2 separate regions of the Homo sapiens genome follow, and region 2 is linked to region 1. Evidence: promoter capture Hi-C in human tissues and cell types (Jung and others, 2019). All regions are on one chromosome and are shown on one strand. The core of a region is centred on a gene start or on the middle of the fragment in contact, and the rest is flanking DNA. Distances in the headings are between cores, read along the strand shown. Region 1 holds the start of PPP6R3 (protein phosphatase 6 regulatory subunit 3). Region 2 overlaps LOC338694 (a long non-coding RNA gene).

Evidence for each region. Contacts are between HindIII fragments. The study calls those that stand out against the background at their distance.
Region 2: a fragment that was not itself captured here is called in contact with the fragment with the promoter of PPP6R3 in region 1 in 1 of the 25 tissues and cell types used here (dorsolateral prefrontal cortex).

What each region holds. Positions count from the first base shown.
Region 1 is chr11:68,456,083-68,463,550 of GRCh38, reverse strand. It overlaps PPP6R3 (protein phosphatase 6 regulatory subunit 3), which reads right to left and starts at 2,799. Exons shown (of 24, transcript NM_001164161.2): 1 at 2,724-2,799. RefSeq lists silencers at 2,339-2,448, 2,499-2,548, 2,559-2,928, 3,239-3,388 and an enhancer at 3,069-3,128. The HindIII fragment of the contact is 5,146 bases long and covers 781-5,926 here.
Region 2 is chr11:69,146,968-69,153,412 of GRCh38, reverse strand. LOC338694 (a long non-coding RNA gene) reads left to right here. Exons shown (of 3, transcript NR_104161.1): 3 at 5,673-6,185. Among named protein-coding and RNA genes, the nearest start is that of SMIM38, 5.7 kb to the left of the region's middle. RefSeq lists an enhancer at 4,203-4,702. The HindIII fragment of the contact is 5,475 bases long and covers 1-4,388 here.

The DNA.
Region 1 (7,468 bases), core at 1,550-4,049:
CCAAAACACACACACACACAAACACACACAGAGGCTGCCTCTCAAATACTGAAAATATAGAACTAGACAATGGAAGTTGTCATAGAAATAAAATACCGATCGTGACACTTGTTTTAAAGAGATGTTTATTTGTAACAAGCACATAATCTACCAAATAGGTGCAAAGCCCTATCTTTTTTTTTTTTTTTTTTTTTTCTGAGACTGAGTCTCGCTCTGTCTCCTAGGCTGGACTTGGCTCACTGCAACCTCCGCCTCCCAGGTTTAAGCGATTCTCCTGCCTCAGCCTCCCAAATAACTGGGATTACAGTCACACGCCACCATGACCGACTAATTTTTGTATTTTTAATAGAGACAAGGTTTCACATGTTGGCCTGGTCTCGAACTCCTGACCTTAAGTGATCCGCCAGCCTCGGCCTCCCAAAGTGCTGGGATTACAGGCGTGAGCCACTGCGCCCGGCCAAAGCTTTATCTTAAAAAGCTAGGCAACCTCATCCTGTCAATGTTACTTCTATTCATTTTCTGCTCAGCTATGGTCTGATTCTCAAATTCTCAATTAGTTCATTGAAACTAACAACTTTTTGCTTGTTGACTTTGCTTTGCTATACTTTACACAAAGGCTAGAGTTCTAAACCGAAAACAATCTTCTTCCTGTCCTTAAGTTCCACCAGCAAGATACTCATCTCTACTTAAGACTGAGTCCATCAAAACACACATCTCCAATACAGCAAACCAAGTCCCAAGTAAACACAACAATACCAGGGGAAGGTGCACGCAAGGTTTCGAGCACCATGGAGGAGAGTATCGGGCAAGCGGTAAAGGATTGTGAGTTTATTTCTGACTGAGTGCAGGCATTTTGTTCAATGTTCTAGACTCCCTGACCAGACATGCTGAAGTGGAGAATACCTTCCAAAGTATCCCTCCAGGACAAAAGCTATTTCCCAAACTATCTTTGCTGAAGAATACTGCAATCCACGGCACCCTTACAGTTTTCAGTAACAAGGAGGACTTACACTAAGAAACCCTAGTTACTGATTCGGGTGGCAGTCACCCAGAAACTAGTATCCAAAAGCACATGAGGAACAAAGCCCGACTTAAGCTTGTGATGGGCTTTTCTGTATTTAACCATCTCTTTAAACATTATGAGGCGCTACTACTCATTAATTACTCCGGTAAATGTTCCTAATTTAAGGAATGGTCAAAAACCCTGTCCTGAAAAAATTAAAATAACTTATAGTTTTACTTTTTCAGCCCAACTGAGTCTTACACAGAGCTTTCTAAAGGCAGTCACCAAGAGTCGGGACTCAAATGCTCATCTGACTTCCCAATAGTACCTAAACATTTAAAAATCAAATTTAAATTAAACAATAATAGCCATTAACTAGCCTAACCACTAATCAGCCACTGAGGTGACTGTATGTGCCAGGCACAGCTCTAGCTGTTTTACATGTATTAGGGCAATTATCCTGACAAACTTATGGCTGGGACACTTATTATTATTCCCATACTACAGAGAAAAAAAAAGAGAAGCTGGGTAACTTGCCCAAGGTCACAGAGCTAAAAAGTGGTCACTGACTCCACTCCACAGTGAGGAAAACCCAACCACCACCATAACTGGGTCTCATACACTTGCTACTTGAGGCACAGTTCGGTGGTTGGAAACCTGGAGTCCCTGTCCCCCTTGAAGCCTATCTGCAACATGACCTTGAGGACAAAATCAAAGTAAACGTCCCACGAATAAAGGACACCACCCCGTCAACAAGTGCTGCGAGGATGAAAGGGAACGCCTGTCAAGCACCCCCTCCCATAAAAGCAAAACAGACCCAAAGCCCCACAGAGAAAACGTGAAGTACCAGGAAAATGACATTAAGTCACGCGGTTGAAACGTCAGGGCACGGAGGTACATCCAAAGACCCATCCCGTTCACCTATAATTAAAAAGTCTAAATTGTGATCACAGCCAGCAGGACCTCAACAGGAAACACCTCCAAGTAAACAGTGAATGGGCTTCTTTAAGAGGGAGGGACTTCAAGCCACAAGAAGGACCACCCACCCCCCCCACCCCCGGCTCAAATACACCAGGGAGGCATTCGAGACAGTTTACATACAAGCCACCTCACAGGAGTTAAAAAGCCACTGGGAAGGGTACTGGGAGCCTCGGAACTGGCTGGTGTGGATCCCGATGACTCTGCGGCGAATTAACAGAAACCCACAAAACTTGTTTCCCGAAGAGCAGAGTCCAACAATGGTCTTCGCGACTCTTGACGGCGAGTTGCTGCCTCAACTTGACGCGCTCCCCGAGGCCCCCGGGAGGCCCAGCGGGAGCGGAGACCGGGCGCGGGCCGGGCGGGGGGCGAGACTGCGGGCCGCGGCCGGCGGGCGGGAAGGCTGGAGCCAGAGCCGGGTCAGGGGCGCGCCTCGCCCGCCCGCCGCGCCAGGCCGCGAACGTCAACGAGGCACAAAGTCGCCGCCCCGACCGCGTCCCGCTCCCGGCGCCCGTCCTGGCGGGGCCCCCGGCTAACAGGAGCGGACGGGGAGCGGCCGGGAAGGACTCGGCGCCGCGCCTCCCGGGCCCGCGGAGCGACGAATTCCGGGGGGGGAGGGGAGAGGGGCCGGGACGTTCCCTCCCTGAGCCGCTGAGGCCAGGTGGAGGGGCCCCGCGCCTGCCCGCGCGCCTCGCACACCCCGCGCCGCGGCCTGCTCCGGCGCCTCCCCTACCCCCATTACCTGGAGGTGCCCACGACCCGCCGCTAGTTGCGCTCAGGCGGGAAACGCGCTCACCGACACCATCAGCGAAGCGCCCAAAATGGCGGACGTATCAAGCAGGCCTTGAGTTCCCCCCCGCCCGCCCTCTGGCCGCCTCTCAGCCAATCGCGGCCCTGCCCCCGCCCCCAGCTCCAGGCTCATTGGCCCCTCTCTCCCGCCCCCTACTACCTATTGGATCGCCTAGCGGCTCCTTTGACTACATTCCGATTGGCCCGCAAGCCTCGTCAGTCAAGCGCGAGGGGCGCATTCTTTTCCCATGGACTTGACGGATCCGGAACCTCTAGGACCCCGGAGCCTGAGAAACAAATCAGAAACGGGGAGAAACCTGGCTGGGACCCCCTACGCCGTAGCAACAGCAGGTCCTCCGCTTGACGGACGCTTCGGACCACCAATCCGAGTGGCCAATGCTTTTTAAAACTAAATTGAGCCAAGCCCATCATGGCCGTGGAGCCGGAGCCGTGAGGGATCCAATAGGGTGGCGAGCTGGCCGGGCGGGGCGGGGGCGGCGGGGGACACCGGTGGTGACGTGAGCCACAATATGCGCCGGCTGCAAAGGTTAGGCCGGGCTAGGGAATCAGCTTAAGTGGAGGAGCGTTCGTTTAGTATGTGAGAGGTAACGGGATCGATGCCTGCATTCTCCACAGGGGAATTTTTATCAGAATGATTTCCCATTGCGATCTCTTTACCTGAAAGAGGTGGCTGTCCTCGTAGCGGGGTCAAGGTGAGGGATCGCGGAATATCCCTACCTGTGACGCACCGCCAAGAGATAAGTGCCCTTGTCCTGGGAGAAGGACTTAGACGAGAACTTTTGGGGTTTGGTTTTGTTTGAGACGGAGTTTCCCTGTTGTCCCCCAGGCTGGAGTGCAGTGGTGCGACCTCAGCTCATTGCAACCTCCGCCTCCCAGGTTCAAGCAGTTCTGTCTCAGCCTCCCGTGTAGCTGGGATTACAAGTGCACGCCACCATGCCCGGCTAATTTTTGTATTTTTAGAAGAGACGGGTGTTTCACCATGTTGGCCAGGCTGGTCTCGAACTCCTGACCTCAGGTGATCCGCCCACCTCAGCCTCCCAAAGTGCAGGGGTTATAGGGGTGAGCCACCGCGCCTGGCCTGGGGTCTTTTTTGAGACAAGGTCTTGCTCTGTTGTCCAGGCTGGAGTGCAGTGGGGTGATCATGACTCACTGCAGCCTCCACCTCCTGGGCTCAAGCAGTCCCCCCACCTCAGCCTCCCGAGTAGCTGGGACCATAGGCACGCACCACTGGGCCCCGCTAATTTAATTTTTTTGTAGAGACAGGGTTTCCCTGTGCACACGAGCTTCTAAATGCTCCCCCGGGCTTCCCGTTCCCCGCCATATCTGTGCCTCCCAGGTAGGACCGAGGTCCCGGACATCAGGACCCCCGCCCCAAGAGCCAGCCCAGGACACCGAGACAGCCCACGGTTAGACCCCATGCTAATAACCTGCCTTATTCCAAAATGGATTTGAGGCGCCTCTCAGAGTCCCATGAAAATCCACAGGAGGTCACGGCGCGGTCACGCCTGTAATCCCAGCACTTTGGGAGGCGGAGGCGGGTGGATCACGAGGTCAGGAGATCGAGACCATCCTGGCTAACACGGTGAAACCCCGTCTCTACTAAAAATACAAAAAGAAAAAAAAAATAGCCGGGCGCAGTGGCGGGCGCCTGTAGTCCCAGCTACTCAGGAGGCTGAGGCAGGAGAATGGCGTGAACCCGGAAGGCGGAGCTTGCAGTGAGCCGAGATTGCACCACTGAACTCTAGACTCGACGACAGAGCGAAACTCTGTCTCAAAAAATAAATAAATAAATAAAAACAAAAAAGACTGGTCTCATAAGATTATGATATTGTAGTTGTACTGGACTTTTTTTTTTTTTTTTTTTGAGATGGAGTCTTGCTCTGTCGCCCAGGCTGGAGTACAATGGGGCGATCTCAGCTCACTGCAACCTCTGCCTCCTGGGTTCAAGCAATTCTCCCTGCCTCAGCCTCCCCAGTAGCTGTAATTACAGGTGCATGCCACCATGTCCCACTAATTTTTGTATTTTTAGTAGAGATGGGGGTTTCACCATGTTGACCAGGCTGGTCTTGAACTCCTGACCTCAGGTGATCCACCCACCTTAGCCTCCCAAAGTGCTGGGATTACAGGCGTAAGCCACCGCGCCCAGCTGTACTGGATCTTTTCTATGTTTAGATACACAAATATTTACCATTGTGTTACAGCTGCTTTCAGTATTCAGCACAGTAACATGCTGTATGGATGTGTAGTCTAGGAGCGATAGGCTATCCCATATAGCCCAGGTGTGTAGTAGGCTAGACCATCTGGGTTTGTGCTAAGTATACCTGTGATGTTTGCAAAGGACAAAATTGCCTAACGATGCATTTCTCAGAACACGTCTCTGTTGTTAACTGTACTAAGCCATTTTATATATGGGACTTGAGAATCCTTGGGGGTCCCAGAAGCAATCTCCCACGGATACAGAGGGACAACTGTATCTACCAGCCCGTGTACGCGCCACGAAAAGTACTGTGCTTCTGGGGAGGCTGCAGACAGGGCAGACCTTTCTCACATTGATCCTGCTACTCAGAGAGGCATGGAGGAACATAGTCAAGCCGGAAGCCAGCCTGGGAGGTGTGCTCTGTGTGGGGGTTAGGGAGGGGATTCACAGGCTGATCACCTGGGCAGGGCGGGAGCGGCCATGCCAGGGAAAGAGGCCGAGGCAGCAAGGTGGAAGGAGCACACCCCGTGGAAGGCAGGGTGGGGCTGATCTCAGGTCTGGGGCAACAGCTCGAGAAGCAGGTGCAGAAGGGACCATGGAGGCTTTGGAAGCCAGGCGGAGGAACCTGGGTTTATGCTCAGACCATGGGAGCCAAGGAAAGCTTCCGGGCAGAAGAAGGGCTGGCCATACTCTAGAGAAGATGGCTGGAAGCGAGAGCAGGGAGCACCAGGTGTAGCACAGGGCCAGAGGGGCAGCTTGGAGCTGGACTAAGGAGCCCAGGAAAGGTTTCAGAGAGTCCTGGGACTGGCTGGTGCCTGAGAGGGAGGCTGGGCCATGGGCAGGAGGGGGCAGCCAGGGCTGGGCTCCCGTCCGTCCTTCCGTGCTGGGGAGCCCAGGGAGGACCCAACACCCCCACCGACCCTTGCATCCCTATACTCACTCATCATCAAAGGATTTGCCAGTATCTGCACCAGGCTCCTCCATCCCTGACTCTGAGGTGGGTCACAGGGCCATATACATTATAATGAAATCATATAGTACCTTGCCCAACGTAAGTGGGCCCCTAAGGTCTCCACTTATGGTTTGCTTCTAACCTAACCAGAAGGTTGAAGTCAGGGAGGACTTCCTGGAGGAGGAGGTATCTGAGCTCAGCCTGGGTCCTGAGAGCCATGGGGAGCTACTGACAGGCTTTAAGCAGAGGAATGACTTAGAAGCTTTGCATTCTACACAGATTGACGTCTCTACCCTAAAACTTCTAGATTTCAGGGATCACCACCTTCTGTCTTTCCTCCTGATCCTTTTGTAGTTTAATGTTTCATATTAATATTAAACTTTTCAATCCATCTAGACTTTAAAAAAAACCCCATAAATATATGTACCTGCTATGTACCCGCAAAAATTAATAACAAATTATTAAAAAAACACACATGTAACTGAATAGTTTCAAACATATTCAAAAGCAGAGAGAAGAGCAGGCTGCATGCTCAAGCACCCATCACCTGGCTATCATGACTTAAATTTTGGGAACAGACTCAGAGCTGCCAAATTTTAATTTTTTTTTTTTTTTTTTTGAGATGGAGTCTTGCTTTGTTGCCCAGGCTGGAGTGCATTGGCACAATCTTGGCTCACTGCAACCTCTGCCTCCCAGGTTCCAGCGACTCTCCTTCCTCTGCCTTCTGAGTAGCTGGGATTACAGGCACACACCACCACGCCCAGCTAATTTTGTGTTTTAAGTAGAGACAGGGTTTCACCACGTTGGCCAGGCTGGTCTTGAACTCCTGACCTCCAGTGATCCGCTTGCCTTGGCCTCCCAAAGTGCTAGGATTACAGGAATGAGCCACCACACCCGGCCCCCAATTTTAATTCTGTAATGATTTTTTTTAAGTATTTACTATTATCATAATTTCATAAAAGAAAGGACATGCTAACACACACATACACTAACACAGGAAAAACTAGCTCTGAATAAAGAAGAGCTTAAATTGAAGAAGTTCAGGCCGGGTGTGTGGCTCACACCTGTAATTCCTGCACTTTGGGAGGCCAAGGTGGGCGGATCACCTGAGGTCTGGAGTTTGAGGCCAACATGGAGAAACCCCATCTCTACTAAAAATACAAATATTAGCTGGGCGTGGTGGCGGGCGCCTGTAATCCCAGCTACTCGGGAGGCTGAGGCAGGACAATCACTTGAACCTGGGGGCGGAGGTTGCAGTGAGCCGAGATTCTGCCACTGTACTCCAGCCTGGGTGGAAGAGCGGAACTCTGTCTGAAAAAAAAAAAAAAAACAAGAAGTTCAACTTGAAGGGAAAAATGCCGTATTGTCTTTCCCTTTGTTATGTCACCAGGGCACAGTCCATCCCAGGCTGGCGCTGATCCACGGGCTGGAGAGGGGCTGCCCCAGAAGAGGACATGCCAGGAAGGGCTTGGCTGGTGTTCAGGAGCCCAGGCCAGGTCAGGTCAAGAGGTGTTGAGGCTGGACGGGA
Region 2 (6,445 bases), core at 402-2,901, 690 kb before region 1:
AAAAAAGCAACCATGGCAGAGATGGGTGAGTTGGGAGAGCATGAACATCATCAACTCTTACTCCTGCCAAGACGGAGCACAGGACATGAGGACCCCGTCCAGGGCCCACGGGGAGCCTGAGTTCCCACCCCACGAAGGCCTGTGGCCCATCACCTCTTCCCCTGAGAATGCTGCATCTCAAAACCCCAGCCGGCGCAGGCTGCCGAAATCAACAGAACATGCATTTCAAACCGGGTTTCCACTGAAATGCTCCCTACACACAGACGGGCGAAAATTAATTTTCTTTCTTCCTGCGCCACAAAAGCAGATTAAAATCACGAACAGTGGGACGAGTGGGGGGAAGTGGAGGGCTTCCTCATTGAGGGAGACCCCTGCCCGGGAGGTTTCTCTCCCTAACAAGGGATGGCCTCAGCCGTTTGAAACGCCCTGCTGCAGGCATAAAGCCCGACCCAGGAGAAGGCACTTGAGAAAAAGGACGCCGCTGCCCTCCCAACGGTTGAAAGCTGGTATGTAACTTTGCTCGGGGTGATCAAACAGCTAGTCAAGGACGCTGTCAGGAACAGAATGAAATTCCAAATAAATTAGCCATGTCCAGAAGCCAATACAACACCGGATTAAGGCTCACAAAGAAAACACAATTTATTCAGCCTACCTTGTCAGAATTCTTAATAACCCCCCTTCCTTTCCCTCACCTCAGGCTGAGAGTCCCTGGGTGTGAAGAGACAAAGTGAACCCCACTCGGGACGCTGGGCGTCTGGTGTAGACGCTGGGCATCCAGTAGATGCGCTGGATGTCTGGTGGAGCATAAGCGTTTACAAAATCGTGTTTTTAGGAACATTTCAGCGGGGGCCATACACAATCGCGTAGGGAAGGCAAGCTGTCCCCAAGTCCCACTCACATCTGAATGAGCGGGTTCATACATTAGAATACAGGAGGAGGCGGGCAGAGACAGGAATATTAACCATTTCAGCTTAACTCTTTGGGGTTTTAGTAGCATCCCTGCCGTCGCCTCAAATGAAGTGTGTTCTGGCGGAGGTGCCTGAAAGCTCTGTCTTCATTTGCACATGATTTTATCTTTTAAGGCAACAAGTAGGTGAATGGTAACTATCACCCTTTGCAAATCCTAACTGTCCTCCGTGACAACTCATTAATATATTCAGCAGCCCTAAAGACAATATCTTTTTTTTTTTTTTTATCAATGAACCCAGACGACTTTCGCAGCCAACAAACGTTCTTTGAAAGAGTTAATAGGCAGAGGTTTGTGTGCGGACTCTGGAGCAGGCATCTTTGAAGGGTCCCGGGCCTCCTCCTTGTCTTAGGCTGTGATGATGTATCTGGTTTGCCCAAAGGCCTCAGTGAGAGTATGGGGCCCTTTCTTTGTCCCCAGAGAGGGGGGTGGAGGGGCCGGGGACGGGGAGTTTGCTCTGCAGCACCGAGCCATTTGCAAGAGATAAAGCCGACAGGGAATTTGAAGGGGAGTTGGGAGGAAGTGATTGGGCCATTACTCTGAGACGGAATGTCAAGATGCTTGAGAAATACACAAAATAAAGATTTTCCCAGAAATTCTTTTAAAAGAGATGACCTAATGGTATTAAATTAAAAAAAAAAAAGATAAAAGAATTGTGCTAAGCTTGGGGAAATCTCTGCCATTTCCCAAGCCTAGATTCTCTCTTGATTTCTAAATAAAACAAGAAGGCAAACAGTGGGGACAAAGACAGGGAGACATGTTTGAGGCCTGCCATGTGCACACAAAATGATTTTTGCGAGAGTGGGCAGGAGTGTGCCTTGGAACAGGACCCCAGCCCAAGGACAATGGGCATGAGAACCCCATGATGCTCCAGGGCTCTGAAAGTGGAACTGAGCTACTGGGAGGTGCCCTGTAGTCACCAAGTATGTGCCACAAGGAAAATCTCCTGTCACCTTAGAAAGGCTGTGGTCTCCTTTAAGTTCCATATAGATTCTGGATATTAGACCTTGGTCGGATACATAGTTTGCAAAAATTTTCTACCATTCTCTAGGGTGTCTGTTTACTCTGTTGATACTTTCTTTTGCTGTGCAGAAGCTCTTCAGTTTAAGTAGATCCCATTTGTCAATTTCTGCTTTTGTTGCAATTGCTTTTGGCATCTTCATCATGATATCTTTGCCCATGCCTATGTCCTGAAAGGCTTGCCTAGGTTGTCTTCCAGGGTTTTTATAGTTTGGGGCTTTCCATTTAAGTATTTAATCCCTCTTGAGTTAATTTTTGTATATGGTGTAAGGAAGGGGTCCAGTTTTAATGTTCTGCATATGGCTAGCCAGTTATCCCAGCACCATTTATTGAATAAAGAATCCTTCCCCATTGCTTTTTTTGTCAGTTTTGTCGAAGATCAGATAATTGTAGGTGTGTGGTCTTATTTCTGGGTTCTCTATTCTGTTCCATTGCTCCATGTGTCTGTTTTTGTACCAGTACCATACTGTTTTGGTCACTGTAGCCTGGTAGTATAGTTCAAAGCCGAGTAGAGTGATGCCTCCGGCTTTTTTCTTTTTGCTTAGGAACAACCCTATTAAAAAGTGGCCAAAGGACATGAACAGACAGTTTTCAAAAGAAGACATACATGAAGCCAACAATCATATGAATAAAAGCTGAACGTCACTGATCATTAGACAAATGCAAGTCAAAACCACAATGAGATACCATCTCACACCAATCAGAATGGCTATTATTAAAAAGTCAAAAAAAAAAAAAAAAACCAGCAGATACTAGTGAGGCTCTGGAGAGAAAGGAACACTTATAAACTGTTGGTGTGAGTGTAAATTAGCTCAACCATCGTGAAAGACAGTGTGGCAATTCCTCAAAGACCAAAGAGAGAAATACCATTTGACCCAGCAATCCCATTACAAGGTATATACTCAAAGGAATATAAATCATTCTATTATAAAGATACCTGCACATGTACATTCATTGCAACACTATTCACAATAGCAAAGACACGGAATCAACCTAAATGCCCATCAATGGAGAAAGAAGTTGTGGCACATATATATCATGGAATACTACACAGCCATAAAAAGGAATGACAACACATCCCTTGCAGGGACATGGATGGAGCAATAGGCCATTATCCGTAGCAAACTAATGCAGGAAGAGAAAACCCAGTACTGCATGTTCTCACTTATAAGTGGGAGCTAAATGATGAGAACACATGAACACAAAGAGGGGAACAGACACTAGGGCCGTTTAGAAGTTGGAGGATGGGAGGGAAGGAGGGAGAGGATCAGGAAAAATAACTAATGGGTACTAGGCTTAATACCTGGGTGATGAAATAATCTGTACAACAAACCCCCATGACACAAGTTTACCTATGTAACAGACCTGCTCATGTACCCCTGAATTTAAAATAAAAGTTAAAAAAAAAAAAAACAGAGAGAGAGAAAGAAATGCTGTGGTCTCACAGCCACCCTGAGCGACATGTGTTCAGAGCCTCCCAGAGACTCCATTGTCAGTGGGTGACAGTGTTCACTTACCAGGAAGAGGAGGCTGCTCAGGCTAACCCAGCCATGACCCCCGCTGGAGGCTAGCTCTGGCACATCCTCTGGCTGGAGGCTAGCCCAGGCGTGACCCCTGGCTTCAGACTAGCTGGGGCTTGTCCTGTGGCTAGCTGCTAGCCTAGGCATTGAGAGGTGAAGCCAGCTGGACTTCCTGGGTCGAGTGGGGACTTGGAGAACTTTTCTGTCTAGCTAAAGGTTTGTAAATGCACCAATCAGCACTCTGTAAAAATGCACCAATCAGCGCTCTGTGTCTAGCTAAAGGTTTGTAAATGCACCAATGAGCACTCTGTAAAAACGCACCAATCAGTGCTCTGTGTCTAGCTTAAGGTTTGTAATTGCACCAATCAGCACTCTGTAAAAACGGACCAATCAGTGCTTTGTAAAATGGACCAATCAGCAGGACGTGGGGGTGCCAAATAAGGGACTAAAAGCTGGCCACCAAAGCCAGCAGCGGCAACCCACTCGGGTCCCCTTCCATGCTGTGGAAGCTTTGTTCTTTCGCTCTTCATGATAAACCTTGCTGCTGCTCACTCTTTGGGTCCACACTGCCTTTATGAGCTGTAACACTCACCACGAGGGTCTGTGGCTTCATTCCTGAAGTCAGCGAGACCATGAACCCACTGGGAGGAACAACCAACTCCCACGTGCCACCTTCAAGAACTGTAACACTCACTGCGAAGATCTGTGGCTTCACTCCTGAAGTCAGCAAGACCACAAACCCACCAGAAGAAAGAAACTCCGGACACATCTGAACATCTGAAGGAACAAGCTCCAGACACACTATCTTTAAGAACTGTAACACTCACCGCGAGCGTCTGCGGCTTCATTCTTGAAGTCAGGGAGACCAAGAATCCACCGGAAGAAACCAATTCCAAACACAGCATGACCCCCGTTGGAGGCTAGCTTGGGCCCATCCCGTGGCTGGAGGCTAGCCCAGGTACATCCCCCGGCTGGGGGCTAGGTCAGGCACATCCCCTGGAACCTCACCAGGAAGCACAGTGGCCACCTCTCCTTCTAAGGCACTGGGTCTCTCTGCCTGACTTCTTCCACCTTCTCTTTCTCTCTGCTCATTGGCTCCCTCTGCTCTGCCTGAGCCTAAAGGCACTGTCAGCCTCACCCATAAATAAGTCCAGCACCCACACTTTGCTGCTGGCCTCCCAGCCCCAGGCTCCCGAGAGAGAATCAGAAGAGCTCAGCAGCCCCTGCATTGGTTCCACAGGCAAAGTCCAAGCTTGACCAACCCGCTGAGGGCTGAGGTACACACATGACTGTGGGCGCTCCAAGAAGGCAGACGAGAAGCAGAGCACATGTGGCCGGCCCCCACCTCTAACCTATTTGCACACACACGTGCAACACATTTCCAAGTCCCGCTGAACACTGAACGTCACGTTACATTTTGTTACATTTCCTTAGCAGTGAGCACTGTTGGGCGATTAACAAAGACGAAAACACCAACAACCTGTATAGTCACAGAGGGTGTGACAACTCACACGGTGCCTCCGTATCCAACGTCCATTTCTGGCACTTGTAAAGCATGCGAGGCTCAGAGAGGTGGAACGTATCTGTTGCCTCTGGGATCCCTGACTTGAAAGTTCACACCCAGGCTCCTGTCACTGAGCAGAGCCCCAGGCAAAGATGCTGAGCCAGGGGAGGTGGCTCTATCACTCCTCCCCCATGCCCCGGCTTCCCTGCCCTGCAGGACGACTGCCTGTCCCCACCCTACTGAACTCAGGAGTGGCCAGTGAGATAAGGGAGGAAATACTCCTGTCGCTTCCTGGTGTGGTGGCTCACACCTGTAATCCCAGCACTTTGGGAGGCTGAGGCAGGCAGATCATGAGGTCAGGAGTTCGAGACCAGCCTGGCCAATAGGGTGAAACCCTGTCTCAACTAATAATACAAAAACCATTAGTCAGGCATGGTGACATGCTCCTGTAGTCCCAGCTACTTGGGAGGCTGAGGCAGAAGAATTGCTTGAACCCGGGAGGAGAAGGTAGCAGTGAGCCAAGATCACGCCACTGCACTCCAGCCTGGGCGACAGAGCGAGACTCTGTCTCAAAATAAATAAATAAATAAATAAATAAATAAATAAATAAGCCAGGGCATGGTTTGCAACGTTCTCTTTTCCCTCTTCCTTTTCCTTCCAGGAAGGAGGCTGCCCTGCCTGGAGTGAAGAGTGCATGGAGCAGTCTCAGCCGACCCAGGTGGGATGCGTAACATGGCCGAGAAATCCACCCATGCTGCTGAGAGCTACTGCGCCATGGGGTCATGTGTCACCTAACTGACTTAGCCCAGCCTGACTGATCCCCCGTGTGTGACCAGACATCAGCACATTCAGAGGACCTCATACTGAGAATTGGTGGACCTTTCAGAATGGACATGACCACTCAAAGTAGGGACATTACTCGCTATTTGATGGCCCATGTGGGATCAAAGGCCACTGGGGTTCCCTCAAGGCACAGCACACTTAGAATCCCATAAGTCCTCAGTTCTAAGGCATGTATTTTTCATACTTTGATAATTCTGAAATCAAGTATAGCTTCTAGTAGATATTAAAACTCATTTTCAGATCCTGCAGAAAGGAGGAGACAGAAATAAAGTTGCCATTCCCTGCTTTTGTATGAACCCAGCTGAGCATAAACCGTAATCTATTCAACCTCTACCGGGTGTTTGCCTTGCGTCCCCACACGTGGTTGACTCATAACCTAAGTTTGAATCCCTAATTTTCACTTTAAATAACTTCAGCTACTCGGGATGCTGAGGCAGGGGAATCGTCTGAACCCAGGAGGTGGAGGTTGCAATGAGCCGAGACTGCGCCACTGCATTCCACCCTGGGTGACACAGCAAGACTCTGTCTCGGGAAATAAAATTAAATTAAATTAAATCAAATCTTCAAAAATATTGCAGTACAATGCAGCAC